5 separate regions of the Homo sapiens genome follow, and regions 2, 3, 4 and 5 are each linked to region 1. Evidence: promoter capture Hi-C in 16 types of primary human blood cells and fetal thymus (Javierre and others, 2016). All regions are on one chromosome and are shown on one strand. The core of a region is centred on a gene start or on the middle of the fragment in contact, and the rest is flanking DNA. Distances in the headings are between cores, read along the strand shown. Region 1 holds the start of ADCY10 (adenylate cyclase 10). Region 2 holds the start of TRP-CGG1-1 (tRNA-Pro (anticodon CGG) 1-1). Region 3 overlaps MPZL1 (myelin protein zero like 1). Region 4 overlaps DCAF6 (DDB1 and CUL4 associated factor 6). Region 5 overlaps MPZL1 (myelin protein zero like 1).

Evidence for each region. Contacts are between HindIII fragments. The CHiCAGO score rates a contact against its expected background, and 5 or more counts as called.
Region 2: a contact is called between a fragment that was not itself captured here and the fragment with the promoter of ADCY10 in region 1, in 3 of 17 cell types (erythroblasts, M0 macrophages and M1 macrophages). The highest score is 9.3, in erythroblasts.
Region 3: a contact is called between a fragment that was not itself captured here and the fragment with the promoter of ADCY10 in region 1, in 2 of 17 cell types (M1 macrophages and erythroblasts). The highest score is 6.3, in M1 macrophages.
Region 4: a contact is called between a fragment that was not itself captured here and the fragment with the promoter of ADCY10 in region 1, in 1 of 17 cell types (erythroblasts). The highest score is 5.2, in erythroblasts.
Region 5: a fragment that was not itself captured here is called in contact with the fragment with the promoter of ADCY10 in region 1 in 2 of 17 cell types (M1 macrophages and erythroblasts); the score reaches 6.1 in M1 macrophages.

What each region holds. Positions count from the first base shown.
Region 1 is chr1:167,912,234-167,915,687 of GRCh38, forward strand. ADCY10 (adenylate cyclase 10) reads right to left here and starts at 1,901. Exons shown (of 33, transcript NM_018417.6): 1 at 1,743-1,901. It also overlaps a transcript of DCAF6 not described here. RefSeq lists enhancers at 929-1,605, 1,606-2,282. The HindIII fragment of the contact is 13,833 bases long and covers 1,573-3,454 here.
Region 2 is chr1:167,714,187-167,717,640 of GRCh38, forward strand. TRP-CGG1-1 (tRNA-Pro (anticodon CGG) 1-1) reads left to right here and starts at 539; the gene lies at 539-610. TRP-AGG2-1 (tRNA-Pro (anticodon AGG) 2-1) reads right to left here and starts at 1,373; the gene lies at 1,302-1,373. RefSeq lists silencers at 20-259, 560-659. The HindIII fragment of the contact is 8,006 bases long and covers 1-3,454 here.
Region 3 is chr1:167,741,022-167,744,475 of GRCh38, forward strand. All of the region lies in intron 1 of MPZL1 (myelin protein zero like 1), which reads left to right. Among named protein-coding and RNA genes, the nearest start is that of MPZL1, 21 kb to the left of the region's middle. The HindIII fragment of the contact is 6,033 bases long and covers 1-3,454 here.
Region 4 is chr1:168,064,725-168,068,178 of GRCh38, forward strand. DCAF6 (DDB1 and CUL4 associated factor 6) reads left to right here. Exons shown (of 22, transcript NM_001198956.2): 19 at 866-1,022; 20 at 1,653-1,741. Among named protein-coding and RNA genes, the nearest start is that of MIR1255B2, 68 kb to the left of the region's middle. The HindIII fragment of the contact is 9,016 bases long and covers 1-3,454 here.
Region 5 is chr1:167,774,383-167,777,836 of GRCh38, forward strand. It overlaps MPZL1 (myelin protein zero like 1), which reads left to right. Exons shown (of 6, transcript NM_003953.6): 5 at 1,682-1,784. Among named protein-coding and RNA genes, the nearest start is that of MPZL1, 54 kb to the left of the region's middle. The HindIII fragment of the contact is 3,865 bases long and covers 1-3,454 here.

The sequences.
Region 1 (3,454 bases), core at 651-3,150:
GGAAATTTTCATTTTTTAAAGCATCTCCAGAAAATTTCTTGTAAAGCCTTGGCTCTTAGAGCCAGGCCGGCAACCTTTGATAAGCAAATGAAGGCCATTAGAAACAGGGCCCACCCAACATGGCGATTCCGGAGGCCTTCTTTCCCTTGCCCCACATGTTCCTGGCAACATGGCCACCTCCACATACTCCCACGTGTGTAGAACATCATGGCACCCTGCATTTGCATATTAAAAGGCTAGGGTGAGAGGGCTAGCTTTTTCAAGGGCTTTGTGAATGACATGCCTGGTCAAACCAATCCCCTGAACCCTATGCAAATCAGACACTGCCTCCTCCAGCGTCTGTAATATATACCTAGCTGACGTCCACCCCACTGGGGGTTCCCTCTCTCGGCTTTGGAGCCCCCCTCCCTCTGTCTCTGTATGGGGGAGCTTCTTCCCTCTTTCCTCTTCCTTCTTGCCTATTAAACTCTCCGATCCTTAAAATCACTCCACATGTGTCTGTGTCGTTTTATCTAAACCGGGATGAGGACTAAGAACCTTGGTGTTCCTCCACTCATCGGAGCCGTATCAATTCTACATAGGTTGCCTCATTTAATCATCCAAACAGCGCTATGAAGTAGACCTGATTTCTATAGATATGAAAACTGAAGCACAGAGGTATTAACTTGCTCTGGGTTATAAAGCTGGAATATCCAGGTCTGTGGGACTTGAAAGTCCCTGTTGTTTCTACTATATCATGCTATATCCCATTTGTATACGCTTTATAGCACTTTGGGGATGTATATGACCTAGACAAAAGATGTAGGTTTAATTTAAGAGCACTTTCAATGCATGTTGATGGTACCCTTATCAACTGTTCAGCCAATTCTATCACATCAAGAATACAGCATGAACAGCATGGGTACTGACAAAGCGCGGAAGCACCTTGGAATGAGAAATGAGGATACCTGAGTCAAAAGGCAAGCAGGCGAATGAGGCCCGAAAGATAAACCAAGAAGGATTCCTGAATGCGGAGTGTGAGTAAAGAAAACTCAGTAGTACCCAAAAATGAAAAGAGAAATTAGGGTTCGATTATATTCATCAGTTTCTCTAAATCTCTCCTCTAGAATTTCCTAATAGATTTTATATTCAACTTTTCACCTACATGTAAAGTCAGGTTTCACGAGTCCAAAGAGGGAGATACTCTGAACTTAAAGGCACAGTGTTACCTGTCATGAAAGCTTGCTTGCCTACTCTAGCCATGGTAATTTTTCTTCTGAGCTATTGTGGCTCTTAATGTCTACACTTAAGTGGCTTATTTCCCATACAAATATCCTTGATTATCTTTTGAATTGCTTCTATTTTGTCTTCATCTGAATTGTAAGCTCCCCGTTTGGAACCATCTTCTACATATCTTTGTTTACTCCACAGCACCTTGCCAGAGCCCCCTTCAAGAGGTAGGCACTTGGTAGTTGTTGACTGATAAAAAGGAGGATATCACGTGAGAAACTGCAGAAAAGAGGCAAATAAAGAAAGTAAGCTAGAAAGACAGAGCATCCAGGTTGAGAAGGTGAGGCAATATTTAAGCCTTCAAGCTTCTAAGCTCATGTAAGGGACTGACACAGAGGTATACACAAACTTGAACCCTGACTTCTAGCCCCAGGCTTCCCACTCCTCTGCAATAGCTGTCTTCTTTCCTGACGGTCGCCCTCATCTTCAGCTCTGCAATCAATCTTTCTGCTGAGACTCTTACTTCCACATACCTCCACTTCATCCAGGGCTGAGGAAAAGCCAGACCTCAGTTAGGGACTAGGTCTTTTAAGACTGCAGAAGACAGGAGAGGAGGCCGGGTGACATTATTCTGAAGACAGCTGAAGCGCCATGTCTGTCTATAGCTGACCCATAAAATGACAGTTTTGTCTAAAAGCCGTTTTCCAGGCCACACCCTCATCAGTAGCTCATTGTTCCACGGGCACCGACCATGTTTCTGATTGGGTGGCACTGCCGTCCCCTCCCCCACCAACCTGAGTGGCCTACTACTGTACAAGGAAGGACTGGCTGTTTCAGGTTCTCTTATCCGCACATTTGAGGCAAGGGTCAGGGGAGACTGACATGACCCCAGAGTAGTTTACACAATTCTTCCCTTGGCCATGTGGAGGATGGTTGAAATTAGGCAATAGTTGGTAGGTGATCATCAGAAGTATCTCCAGAGCAAGCAAACACCTAATTTTAGTCAATAGTGGTTACAGCTTGTACCAGGACTATGAAATTTACCAGTTATAATAAATTCAATACTTACCTTCAGATATATTTGTGAGGTAAATTTTTGTTTGAAGAATTATATACCTGCCCTTTCTGACTGGTCAAGTGCACGCTTTTAATCAAATTTATCCCAAAGATAACTTGAAATCCAATGGGCACTGGATTTGAGTTTTCTTTATCTGATGTGACACTGGAAAAATGTATTTTAAGAGGCTGGTGTGTTTTCTAACAGCTTAAATCATGTGTTGATTTTCTAAATGTTCTTATGTATATCATCACAACCACAATTATCATTTAGGGGCACAGCTTTTAAAATTGGAATTTAAAAAGTCTTATTTAAAAAGCTGTACATGTTCTCCTATAAAGCCCCGCTCTGTAATTGTTTACTGTGTACTTCCAAATGTTGTAAAACACAGTTGTCTTAGGGAGGAAAACAAGAGGGTCATTTAATTATGTTCATTGAGTGAATTTTCTGGTGTGAGTTGTGGAAACCAGTCTTATAATTAGAATCATACCTCATTTAATTAAACAATCCCCTTAGGGAGAGCTATTCTTAATAAATGCCAGTGTTTTCTATTTCTGCTTCATTATATAAACAGGCTCCAGTAGAGACCTTTGTTTTACAGAAAGGAACCTTAGCTTTGAGGTCCATCCTCATTAACATTCAACCTTTCGCTATGATTTTATAAGTTAAAAAAGAAAATATTTACTATGAGGAAACAGCAGCACTGACATACCTTGGATCAAAGTTTCCTTAAAAGAGATGCCATACCACAAAAAAAGACTAAAGAATTTATCTCTTATTGAGCATTCTCCACCCCACCTACTACTCCTCTACCCCAAGCAGCTTCTTTTCTGCTATAAAGTTATTAGTTCAGAAACCGTGCAAATAGGTTAACACAGTATATCCTTTTTGTAGTAAAATTAAAACTTCCTTTAAAGTACTTAAAGAAAAGTACTTTCTGGGTCTACCTTCAATTAATAAGATTACCATTTTCTGAACTTTCTTCTTGTTGCCCAGGCTGGAGTGCAATGGCGTGATCTCAGCTCACTGCAACCTCCACCTCCCTGGTTCAAGTGATTCTCCTGTCTCAGCCTCCCAAGTAGCTCGGATTACAGGCATGTGCCACCATACCCAGCTAATTTTTTTGTATTTAGTAGAGATGCGGTTTCACCATGTTAGTCAGTCTTGTCGCGAACTCCTGACCTCAGG
Region 2 (3,454 bases), core at 336-2,835, 200 kb before region 1:
AATATTCACTCCTATGGGATTTCGTCTCCCACCACCCCTTTCTTAGCCAGGATTCGGGTATTCCCTTCCCTCGCTCGGACTCCCCGTCTTCATTCACCGACCCACTCGCGGAGCGAGCAGGCCCAGCTCTGCGTGCACTGACGGGCTGGGCGCGGGCGGGGCGCCGCCGGGACTTGGCACCGGGCTGCGTCCTGAGGCGCCCTGCCCCGCCCCGCACTTTCCTCAGCCCGGGCTCCCGGGCGCCCGCCAACACTGCGAGTGGAACAGCCGGGGCGAGCCCGTAAGCCGGAAGGCGGCTTCCGGGAGCGCGTGCGAACGTGGAGGCCACGCCGGCGATGGGGGGTTGGAACGGCCGGACCAGGCAAAAGCCGGTCCCTCCCTGCTCCTCCACGCTGTGGGGCAGTAAGCGCTCCGGACCCGAGGCTTAGGGAATCAGAGGACACGCAGTATAAGGGTCGCAGGTCGTGGTTGCTCGGAACACGAGGTGAGAGGCGGAACAAGGCTGAAGGGAAGCTCTGGGAGTGCCCTTGCCGAGAGCGGCTCGTTGGTCTAGGGGTATGATTCTCGCTTCGGGTGCGAGAGGTCCCGGGTTCAAATCCCGGACGAGCCCAGGCTTTTACCCACCCCACACCCGAAATTTAAAAACAGATTTTTTCCCCCTAATTCCCCACATATTCCATTCAGAAACTTAAATGAAAACATACTGGTCCCATGAGCTCGAATGTTGATCCCCTTTGTTTTTTGAAGCGAGGGACCATGTGAGCTCAATTAATACAACATATGGTTACTGTACGCCCAAAGGCAACGCATTCAAATTGCTTTGTACCATGTAAAACACACACTCTTGAAAAACAGACGCCTAGTGCGGAATCCTGTGCACGCCTTTAACTCCTCCAAACGAGCAGGGGGCGTCATGGATTAGCATGTCCCGGGGTTCGGGAATCAGCATTTCCGAGGAAAGGGGCGCTCAGGAGATATCCCCACCCCCGATGAGGGGCACTGTCGTGGATGAGTTTAAACCACGCCATAGGCAGCCAAGAACTGAGCTCCCGATGGCCCTGTACACGCGCTGCACCCAGGAATAGACAGCTAGGGACAATGTTTTCATAGTACAATACTACATTACTAGCAAACTTTTTACATTTTCAAAATGAGGCCTTTTAATGGTATTTCAATGTAGAGTGTGCTCTAAGTTTCCAAAAATCTCAATTTTGTGTTTTACTCTGACCAACCTGTATTTATTACGTTTAGTAATCTATCCCCAAAAAAACTCACCTTTAAGTGATTCTTACTCCAAAACAGGGCTCGTCCGGGATTTGAACCCGGGACCTCTCGCACCCTAAGCGAGAATCATACCCCTAGACCAACGAGCCGACACAAACTCCACCTTACTGTCATCAGAAAGGAACACATAGCTATTTAGTCCTGCGCCCTCAAGTGGTTGCTCGCATGTTAGGATTCGATCTTTGGGTTGTGTTTGCTTTCTATAGATACCGCGTTTTCAATTTTCTTTCTTTTCTGTTTTGCTCTTTGAAAATCAGTAACACAGAAGACAGCAAAATTGTCACTATCAGTATAATATCGACCTCTTATTTCGAAAATTGTAATTGTATTTCTATTCATGGCTAATAAATGGCTATTAGTGTGGGACAATGTCACTGTGGCAGATTCCAGACTCTCTCCGTTACTGAGTGAGTTCTGGATGTTTCATTCGTTCTTTTTCGCACTTTTCTATAATGTTAAAATCTCGGTTTCTTGCCGATATTTTTTATTGTAATATTCAAAGCCCTACCTATCTAGCCTTGTGAATTCCCATCTCTGTTTTTACTCGAAGTGTTCTCTTCAGCTGGAAAACCTGTTTGCTTTTGGACAAATCCCAAACTCTAACCTTCCCAGAAAAAGATCCTTTAACATATCAAAACCAATAGTATGTGGTAAATAACTGGGTTTCAGTCTTATCTCCTCCAACTGTAACTTCTTAGAGCGCAAGACACCTACACCAACACGAAATTCTACTGTAGAATTGGCAACCAATTGTGTGATTGCTGTTCGATTGTCCCAATATCTTTAATTAGATATAGTAAGCATGGCTTCTTAACTATATTTTAAATTCTTTTTCCTTTCTTTCTTTTTTTTTTTTTTTTTTTGAGACGTTGTCTCGCTTCGCTCTTTCGCCAGGCTGGAGAGAAGTGGTGTGATCTCGGCTCACTGCAACCTCCGCCCCCTCCGCCCTCCAGGTTCAAGCGATTCTCCGCCTCCCGAGTAGCTGGGATTACAGGCACCTGCCACCATGCCCAGCTAATTTTTGTATTTTTAGTAGAGGCGGGTTTCACCATGTTGGCCAGGCTGGTCTCCAACTCCTGACCTCAGTTGATCCACCCTCCTCGGCCTCCCAAAGTACAAGCGTGAGCCACTGCGCCCGGCCTAATTTCTTTTTTTTTTTTTTTTTTTTTTTTTTTTTTTTTTGAGACAGAGTCTAGCTCTGTCACCCAGGCTGGAGTGCAGTGGCGCGATCTCGGCTCACTGCAAGCTCCGCCTCCTGGGTTCATGCCATTCTCCTGCCTCAGCCACCCCAGTAGCTGGGACTACAGGCGCCCGCCACCACGCCTGGCTAATTTTTTTTGTATTTTAATAGAGTCGGGGTTTCACCGTGTTAGCTAAGATGGTCTCGATCTCCTGACCTCGTGATCCACCTGCCTCGGCCTGCCAAAGTGCTGGGATTACCACCGTGCCTGGCCCTAAATTCTTAAATACTTAGCATTGAGGCTTATCATAAGGAAGCTGGTGCTCAATGAATGATTCTGAATGATTACAATTTGTCTCAAATTCCTTAACAATACGAATTTTAGGTGTTTTTTGTTTGATACAGGGTCTCACTCTGTCGCCCGGGCTGGAGTGCAGTGGCATGATCATGGCTCACTGCATTTTAGTACTTTTGTTGCCGGAAAAAGGGGTCTTCACCGAACCTGGAGAGAGGGTTCTTGGATCTCGTGCAGGAAAGAATTCAGGGTGAAAGAAGCAAGTTTATTGGAAACTACTCTGTTACAGAGCAGGATGTTCTCAGAAAGTAGGAGGAGAAACACCCCGTTCTTAAGTTTTTCTTATATAGTGATCTTACCTATGTAAAAGCTAGGCTAAGCTGTGCCTACATACGGGTGAGCAGACAACATGACAAATTTTGTTACTCTGTTGATTTAAAGAAGACAATTATTGACATTTTAGTGTGTGAATACGTAAAAGCATAACTGTGATTATCTTAAAGGCATATATTGTTGTAGATATTAGGACATTTGGACTTCTTGCTGTTGTAGGAGTCAGTCCTAGTTATCTTCAGGCTGTTTCCTTAATTATAAACATCCCATGACTATGGGTCGTGGCAGGCAAGGAATGTGCCTTGTTAGTCCTAAAATGGAGCTGAACTTAAAATGGCATTATTCTAGCTTTCCTAGGCTGC
Region 3 (3,454 bases), core at 267-2,766, 170 kb before region 1:
TTTGGTTTTTGTTTTGAGACAGTCTTGCTCTGTCACCCAGACTCAAGTGCAGTAGTGTAATCACGGCTTACTGCAGCCTTGAACTCTTGGGCTCAAGCAATCCTGCTGCCTCAGCCTCCTAAGTAGCTGGGACTGTAGGCATGTGCCACCACGCCTGGCTAATTTTTTTTTTTTTTTTTTTTAGAGATGGGGGTTTCGCTATGTTGTCCAGGCTGGTCTTGACCTCTTGGGCTCAAGTGATCCTCCTGCCTCAGCCTCCCAAAGTGCTGGGATTACAGGCATGAGTCACCACGTCTAGCCTGCAGTCACTTTTTTTTTTTTTTTTTCCTGACAAGGTCTCACTTGTCACCCAGGCGTGCTGTGGCATGATCTCAGCTCACTGCAACCTCCGCCTCCCAGATTCCAGCAATTCTTGTGCCTCAGCCTCCTGAGTAGCTGGAATTACAGGCACACGCCACCACGCCTGGCTAATTTTTGTATTTTTAGTAGAGCTGGATTTCACCATGTTGACCAGGCTAGTCTTGAATTCCTGACCTCAAGTGATCTGCTCGCCTCAGCCTCCCAAAGTGTTGGGATTACAGGCATGAGCCACTGTGCCTGGCCTGCAGTCACTTCTTAACTGCTTTCCCAATTTCAGTCCGTATTCCCCTCCACTCCATTTTCTACATAGCAGCAAGAACTATTTTACATCAGGTGCTGTCATTTTGTTGTTTAAAACCCTTTAGTCTTGGCTGGGCACTGTGGCTCATGCCGATAATCCCAGCACTTTGGGAGGTCAAGGCAGGAGGATCACTTGAGCTCAGCAGTTCAAGACCGGCCTGGGCAACATGGTGAAACCCTGTCTCTACAAAAAATATAAAAGTTAGCTGGGCCTGATGGCTCACACCTGTAGTCCCAGCTACTCAGGAGGCTGAAGTGGGAAGATTGCTTGCACCTGGGAGGTTGAGGGTGAAGTGAGCCATGATCATGCCACTGCACTCCAGCCTGGGTGACAAAGTGAGACCCTGCCCCCAGAAAAAAACCCTTGTTGGGAGGTCAAGGCAAGTGTATCACCTGAGGTCAGGAGTTTGAGACCAGCCTGGCCAACATGGCAAAACCCCGTCTCTACTAAAAATAGAAAAATTAGCCAGGCGTGGTGGCCCTCACCTGTAGTCCCAGCTACTCGGGAGGTTGAGGCAGGAGAATCACTTTAACCTGGGAGGCGGAGGTTGCAGTGAGCAGAGATCATGCCACTGCACTTCAGCCTGGGTGACAGAGCAAGACAAAAAAAAGAAAAAAAAATCTTTGATCTTATCAAATTGTTCTTGTTTTCCATAATATCAAAAACCCGGCATATAAATATATAACAAGTATAAGAGTGTATCGCCTAACTATATTATGGGCAGATACCTTAATAGTATCTTTCAAATAAAAAAGATACTTGCCAACTTTTAAAATAAATATATATGGAGTGCCTGAGGGAATTTCTTAAGGAGTCCATAGTCTATCATCAGTCTACCATAATCAGAATAGGAACTATAGTTTATTTTGGAATGGATTGTGAAGATTTTCTCTCACTCTGTGGGTTGTCTGTTTACTCTGCTGACTGTTCCTTTTGCCACACAAAAGCTCTTTAGTTTAAGTCCCAGCTATTTATCTTTGTTTTTGTTGCATTTGCTTTTGGGTCTTGGTCATGAAGTCTTTGCGTAAGCTAATGTCTAGAAGGGTTTTTCCAATGTTCTCTTCTAGAATTTTTATAGTTTCAGGTCTTAGATTTAAGTCCTTGATCTATCTTGAGTTGATTTTTGTATAAGGTGAGAGATGAGGATCCAGTTTCATTCTCCTACATGTGGCTAGCCAATTATCCCAGCACCAGTTGTTGAATAGGGTGTCCTTTCCCCACTTGATGTTTTTGTTTGCTTTGTCAATGATCAGTAGGCTGTAAGTATTTGGGTTTATTTTTGGGTTCTCTATTTTGTTCCTTTGGTCTATGTGCCTATTTTTATTACAGTACCAGGCTGCTTTGATGACTGTGGCCTTATAGTATGGTTTGAAATCAGGTAATGTGATGTCTCCAGATTGTATGCAGGCTCTTTTTTGGTTCCATATGAATTTTAGGATTGTTTTTTCTAGTTCTGTGAAAACTGATGGTGGTATTTTGATGGGAATTGCGTTGAATTTGTAGATTACTTTTGGCAGTATCATCATTTTCACTTTTTTTTTTTCTTCGAGACAGAGTCTCGCTCTGTCGCCAGGCTGGATTGCAATGGCGTGATCTTGCCTGACTGCAACCTCTGCCTCCTGGGTTCAAGCAATTCTCCTGCCTCAGCCTCCCAAGTAGCTGGGACTACAGGCGCACATCACGCCCAGCTAATTTTTGTATTTTTAGTAGAGACGGGGTTTCACCATGTTAGCCAGGCTGGTCTCGATCTCTTGACCTCGTGACCCTCCCGCCTCGGCCTCCCAAAGTACTGAGATTACAGGCGTGAGCCACCGCGCCTGGCCTTCGCAATATTAATTCTTCCTATCCGTGAGCATGGGATGTGTTTCCTTTTGTTTATGTCATCTGTGATTTCTTTCAGCAGTGTTCTGTAGTTTTCCTTGTAGAAGTGTTTCACCTCCTTGGTTAGGTATATTCCTAAGTATTTTGTTTTACTTTTTTTGCAGCTATTGTAGAAGGGGTTGAGTTCTTGATTTGATTCTCAGCTTGGTTGCTGTTGGTGTATAGAAGAGCTACTGATTTGTTTACATTAATTTTGCATCTGGAAACTGCTGAATTCTTTTATCAGTTCTGGGAGCTTTCTGGAGGAGTCTTTAGGGTTTTCTAGGTAAACAGTCTTATCATCAGCAAACAACAACAGTTTGACTTCCTCTTTACTGATTTGGATGCCCTTTATTTCTTTCTCTTGTCTGATTTCTCGGGCTAGGACTTCCAATACTTTGTTGAAGAGAAGTGGTAAGAGTGGGCATCTTTGTCCTATTCCAGTTCTCAGAGGGACTGCTTTCAACTTTTCCCTATTCATTATTATGTTGGCTGTGGGTTTGTCATAGATGGCTTTTATTACATTGAGGTATGTAATGGACAGGCATTCTAAGCCCTTTACAAATATTAACTCATTTCATTCTTGTAATAACTCTTTGAAGTCGGTACTATTAGAATAAACTTAAAAGTATGAGAAACTGAGGCATGGAGGGCTTTTTGCACAAGGTCCCACATCACTCTTTCTTGTCTCGGGTAACCCTGTGATTCACATAGTTGCAGACCACATAGTCACACCGGAAGTTTTTCAGGAAACCTTTCTAGACATCTTGTTAAAAACTTACAAAGGGGACAACTTTTGATGTGTAAAACAATTAGGAAGCATGTCCAGAGTCTAAGTGTTCTTTAAAAACCAAAAAAAGGCCGGGCACAGTGGCTCATGCCTGTAATCCCAGCACTTTGGGAGGCCAAGACGGGTGGATCACCTGAGGTCAG
Region 4 (3,454 bases), core at 267-2,766, 150 kb after region 1:
ATAACAATAAAATTGTCTCCCCTCTTTTGTGAGAGCACCAAAAATGGCAAAGTAGCAGCTGCAGTTAAAATTTTTTAAAATCCTTGTTTGAAATACAAAGATTTTTGATGTTTCATTCATGTGCATTCATTTAAAAATGTCATTATAACTATTCCAGTATATCATATGCCTTTGATTCTGCTTCATAAAATTAAGTATGTTTGTATCTTTCTCAATTGTGTTAGCTTATAATAGCTAATGATCTTCTTTCTATTCTTTGGGTCTAAAGCAAAATACAAAAGACAATTTCTTTTATCTGTGAATTATTTCATTGTCTTATAAAGCTAAATTGGTACAATTTTTGGAAAGTTCAGCAACATATATGTAAATTGCCATTATACTGCCCAAAACCCAGAAATCCTATTCTTTCATTTAGCAGTTAATAATTAAGCACCTATTGTATCCCAAGTACCATTTCAGGTGCTGTAAATATAGTATTGAACAAAGCAAAGTCCCTCTTCTTAGGGGGGATTTTCTATTACTTACTGCCATCTTACCCTTGCTGATGAATGCCTATCATAATTTAAAGAAGCTAGAAGACAGATTTTTGTCAGTTTTTTTTTTTATAGATAGGGGATCTCACTATATTGCCCAGGCTGGTCTCAAACTCCTCAGCTCAGGCAGTCCTCCTGCCTTGGCCTCCCAAAGTGCTGGGATTACAGGTGTGAGCCACTGCGCCCAGCATCAATTTTTAATTTTACTATTTTCTAAGCCAGTTTTTTAAAAAATGTAAGAATTAAAACAAATAAAAAAATGTAAGAGTAGCATAAATCTTTGTTTTAATAACTTTGATTTGAATTTTTAAATAATTTTTTTTAACCCTTAGATAAAAGAAGCCAATTTCTGGGGTGCTAACTTTGTAATGAGTGGTTCTGACTGTGGCCACATTTTCATCTGGGATCGGCACACTGCTGAGCATTTGATGCTTCTGGAAGCTGATAATCATGTGGTAAACTGCCTGCAGCCACATCCGTTTGACCCAAGTAAGATATCTTTTCTAGGACGAGGGCTAGAAATTATTTGTATGACTCATCAGTCATACAAAATTATTCTTTTTTAATTGTTAATATTATAAGAATAATCCAAACTATCTGACTAGGCAGCAGTAGAGTCAATTACAGCTGAACTTGCACTTCAAACACACCTGTAATCTGCTTTTTGCACAAAGTAAAAGAAAATAGGTTAAAAAGTTTATTCTCCCAATATTTCTTCTAAGTTTTACAAGCTGTAAGAGGTTTGGTGTGACTGAACTTTTTATTGTATATCCAAATGGAACATCCAGTCATTTTTAGTCTTCACATAGCTGAATTAATTTATCAGAACAAAAGAGCATTGCTCGTCTTCTTTTTGAAATTGCCCACATATCTCATAAAAGAACAATGAATAAGTGACTTCAACAATGAATCTGAGTGACTTCAACATGGTATTAAAATTACGTTCTAGGATAACATTTAGCAAATTGTCAAAATAATATTTTCAATTAACAGTTAAATATATAGTGTACAATTGCTGTTCAAGGTTAGTTTTGCTATATATACATATATGCATAATATAAGCATATCCTGAATTGCATGTTTCTAGGCTTCATATTAATATATAAATTTTATTTCTAGTTTTAGCCTCATCTGGCATAGATTATGACATAAAGATCTGGTCACCATTAGAAGAGTCAAGGATTTTTAACCGAAAACTTGCTGATGAAGTAAGATTTTTATTGTACTTACTATAGACCATATTTCAATTTGTTCCTAAAATGCTTCCCTAAGAAAAATTAAAAGTTATTAGTTGCTAACATGAAACAAGTTAATGCAGTTAAGGAGGTCAAATTTTAAGAAAAAGAAAAATTAAGATAAAAGGATGTCTATAATACTAGGGAGGTAAAATCTAAATAGTAGCTTACTAATTATAATATTCATCATCGGTAACACCAGATTAGGTGTATAGTAGTTTAAGAAAAACAGGTTTGAGTATTCATGTTATTACAATAAAGAATCACACACAAAAAAATCTGTCCTTTTAAGAAAATAATTTTATTATAACTGTTTCTCCAAAAGCCTAGCAATTTTTCCATTTTTAGTACAGCTATTTTTCCATTTTGAGTTTTTCTTAAAAAGGAAATGGAACTTTGTTTTTCAGGATTAGTATATAGCAGAACAAATGAGTGAAGAATCTTTTCCTTTATCATTATATTTTAAGATTTTTTTAAGCCTGTTAAAACAGTATTTTCAGCCTGAGTTCTTTGGAGCTCTGGATTTCTTCTGGGATGGGAGAGGGAAGGTGGATAATAGGAAGGCATTACTCTGGGCCTTTCCTCCCCAACTTCAACCAGGGTTTTTATTTGTGGGTTCTCATATACTATTTCTTATGAAAATGAGAATCCATTGCTAAAAATGTTAGTAAGTTGGAAAACCACTACTCTAGACTAACACTGACTGTTCGTAGCACAATTCCCATGTATACTTTCACTCATTGAATAGGCATTTATAAAACAGTTGATGTATTGTATACATAATGCTGGGTGTAAAAAAGATAAGGCCCTACCCTCAGAGTTTAGTGGGAAAGACAATGTAAACAGCTAGAACATACTGTAGTGGGGTCTGTGTCAGTCAGAGGTATACACATAGTGTTTTGGAAGCCCACAGAGAGGAACAGCTGTTTGTAAATGGGGTAGATAGGATGGAGAGGTCTTCACAGAAGAAATAAGAATTGGACAGAAGTCTGAGAATAGTTCACCAGGCAGACAGGGAGCAAAGCAGCATTTAAGACAGAAGGATCAGCATGTGCCAAAGCATGAGAGGGTAAATGAACCATCAGTGTGCCTGGAACCCTAGAGTACATGCACAAAAGTAGCTTAATCAAACTAAACGGTTAGGTGAGGGTAAGATTGTGAAGGGCCCTGTGGGGCACCCTGATGAGTTGGGAATTTATTATTTCAGTATTGGGGAACTGTTGATCAGAGTAGCATCTTTCTCTTCCTCTCATACTCTTTCTTTCATCCTTTTTTTCCTTTGCCATGTTTTTTGCTTTTCCACTTTTTTCCTTTGCTCATGGTTACATATTGCATCTCTGGGTGTTCACGAGTATTCAAGTAATCCTATTCTTGGTACTTAAGGCTCAGTTTCTTGTTAACCCTTGCCCAAAAATTTATTTTCCAAGACTACTCTGCCTCAGTCAAGGTAACATCTTTTCAAGGGATTCAAGTGGCCCATGGATAATAATTTAACTGTATTTCGTCACTAAAGTTATCAGTTCTCCTATAGGGAAAACAAGGAGCCAACAAAGTAAATGGCTCTGAGAAGCAAATTGCAAGTAAAAGCTAAATTAAATTCTTAAATGTTTTAAGTAGCCTCAAAATTTGACCTTTGTTTTTCTGCCATTTGAAAGAGTTGTGTTCTTTGACCTTCCTCCTTTAAAT
Region 5 (3,454 bases), core at 321-2,820, 140 kb before region 1:
GGTGGATGGTGGGAACCTCTATCTATGGGCTCTGCTGATCTAGAGTTTTTAGGAGTGCTGTGTTTTAACAAGTTTGAGTGTTCAAATTCAGATATTACTTGCTTGGAATGCTTCTATTCTGCTGACTGTATCTGCCCCCCTTGCATGGTGAGTGTTTTATGATTAAATATAGTTGGACTATTGGTTTCAACATGAGACTAATCCAGGGTGGTGACATGCCGGTCTTTGTAGTTCTTGCTTCGGGGTTAATGAGGGGCAGGAAAGAGTTCCTTAGACTCCTGCATGGCATCATGAATGCTGCTGTTCTTCTTACCTTGGTTTTTTTCCTCCTCCTCTACCTTTTCTACCTTGGTGTGCTGGGATCAGATCCTGCTTATCTTCCACTTCTTAAGAAAAGCTGACATAGAAGACACATTGGGACTATAACAGGGCTGGGTCTCCTCTTCCACTCCCACTAGACACATGGTAACTAATCACATTGCCCATTACTGTTAATATTCCTGTGTATGTATTCAGCCCCTCTCCCTTGTTGATGACTAACCAGCTAGCTCTGAGCTAACCCAACAGCTATTATGATTTGTCCATGAATATGTCACATGTTTGTATTGGAAACATGTTGAGCATACTATCTGGATGAAATTGGATTGTGAAGTTACATAGAGTTTTTATGCACATCTGAATATTTGTGCTCTTCATGTAAAATGCCATTGTGTATGTGTGTGTGTGCATTAGTTTTCTTTTTTCATATATGTATTATGTTATCAATATTTAAGATCCTGACTGATTATGTATTAGAATAATTAAACCATTTTGGTTCAGAGCATGTAGCCTCCCATTTCACAGAAGGAACAGTTTGCAGAATGCATGGTATGCTTTGGTCTTAGTAATGACACTTTAAATGTGATTCTCCCCAAACTCCTAAGTTTTAAAAGTATATATCAAAAGGCTTTAAGCTGTACTGATGACACATCTCATTGGAAAATCCCTACGCTGTACCCCAGCTTTCTTACTTCCTGGCATTCACTTTCCCTGATTCATTTATGAGATAGTGCTTGTTGTTAAAGACTACTGTCACCGTGAAAAGGTTCAGCCTGTGTGACCTGGCATTCCCTAATTTCTCATTCATGACTTCCTGAGTTTTTGGGGGGATTTGATTGTGGTATTGGTAGGGAATAAAAATATGGAGAGAACAAGATAAGCCAAGACTTGCCTGGATATATATCTGTAATTTAAAACATACATTCAGAAGAGGTTTGCCTTTGATTATAACAAAAGTGAATTGCCATTAAGCTAATAAAAGGTACCATAGAGCTTGTTCCCTTAAACCTTTATCCCAAAGGAGGGTTGATGGCAGGGGGAAAAGACAAACAGCAAAAGGATAAATGTGTATTGTAACTAGAATTCCAATATGATTTTTGTAAACTGGGTTGAAGAGGTTGTACCATATTTGTTTCTGTGCCTCCCCCAGTGATGAGTTCATTGACTTAGAAGAATGAGTGAGTGTCAGGTATAGAAAATAGTTTAAAAACATGTGATCATTTTGACACCCATTGTTATGTTGTCTTTTGTTTTTATATATCTGTTGCTTCATCTTGCCGTCAGTTGCATTTCTATATTTTTGTTTCTATTTATTTATTATTATTATTTTTTACATTTGTTCTTCAAATTGCCAATTCATCAGCTGCAGTACATCAGAGAGTTTGTCACCAGTTAAGCAGGCTCCTCGGAAGTCCCCCTCCGACACTGAGGGTCTTGTAAAGAGTCTGCCTTCTGGATCTCACCAGGTAATGGCTGATTGCGATTCTGCCCACTGCACTGTTCCCTACAGCTTGGTGCTCTGTCACTTCCTTGGGTGTGGAAAAGAATACTGAGCTATGAGAGACAGAGACAGAGACAGACAGACAGAGACAAAGAGAGAGTGGGAGTGAGGAATTAAAGGGCTGGCCTAGGAAGACCACAGGAAAATATGTGGTGAAGAATCTGCTTGAGTAAAGATTTCCATGAAACCACCAATAACATAAATTGTTTACTAACCATGTAGCTTCCTTGCCTCAAGCAGAATTAGGAAATGGCTTTGTCAGTAAAAGATTCTTTAATTGCCCAAGGAAATGAATCTAATGAAGGAGATTCTTTCTGTATTGAGGTACTCTAAGATAAGAAATTAGCAAGGAAAAGTTGGTATTCTTAGTATTGATAATAAAACCAAAATTATTTTCTGTGGATTCTTTAGAAAAAATGGAAAGTAAGCATTTATCTGAATAATTAATAGGCTTGATGAACAAGGAATGGTTTTGGTTTCTACTTGTAGAAAGTACAGAAGAGAAACAGGTTTTATTTGGAAGTTAGCATATAATCTAGCTTTGTGTGTTTTGGCTGTAGTATTTTAATTATAACTGTGGCTTGGCAAAAATTCCATAGCTTAGTTCAGTTTGATTTTTCTGGGGTAGAAAGCATGCTAAAGAATTTGGCCAGTTATAGCTTTGTCCTAAAAAGGTGTTAGCTGGTGGGAATGGATTTAAGAGGAAATAAAGAGAGTAACAGTGTTTTGTGGGAAAAGTACCCATAGTCTTATTCCATAGTTGTTATATGTGGTGAGGAAACTAAGGCATTGTGATGTTAAATTACTAAAAGCACACACCCAGTTAGTGACAGAACTGGGGCTAGAACCCAGGTGTCTAGATAGCATGTTCTCTACCACAGCATCAGGCTCATTACTTGTTCCTGTTCTATCTGTCTGTCTCTCTCTCACATTACATAATATATGTCAGATACCTCAGTCTACTAATTTGGGTTGTGAACAGGAATATGGTTGTAAATGAAGACATGAAAGTTACATACACATAGGCATAGCATCTAAAAAAGCATTGGAACATTTTTATTCCGCCCTTGAAGCACTATGGAAGTTGCTTTTTTGCTGAAAACAAACCAGAAAAAAGAAAAAGAAACTGTGGTTTTCAAGACAGTGGAACACAAATTATGCAGCACTGTCATCCCCAAAAGAAAGGAAACAGACAATGTGAGCCGTGTTATTGCCCCAGTGTACTGCCTTGAAGCAGTTTCCACACTGCAGTGTAGGTGGGGAAAATGGAAACTGGGCCCAGCTGTCTCACTCAATTGAGAAGGCGGAAATCAGAATTTGGGGAGGTCAAGGAGGCTAAGATTTATGAGGCTGAGTACCAAAGAAGGAACCATAGAGAGAGCGTGCTAGGATGAGCACGAGCACTTCAGAGATTTGGAGCGGGGTCCCCTTGAGTCTTTGTCTGATTACAGAGTTGTATACACATAGGAGAACACTCTCTGAAACCAGGGGAAGAACTACCTGAAATGCAGTAGGTTGCACAATGCCTGGTGCTCACACAGGTGAGGGACTAGTTTGTGTTCCTAAGAGCCAGAGTAGAGAGACTTATAATACACAGGGTATTGGTTGGGGTTCTCAAAATGGTCATACCTAAAT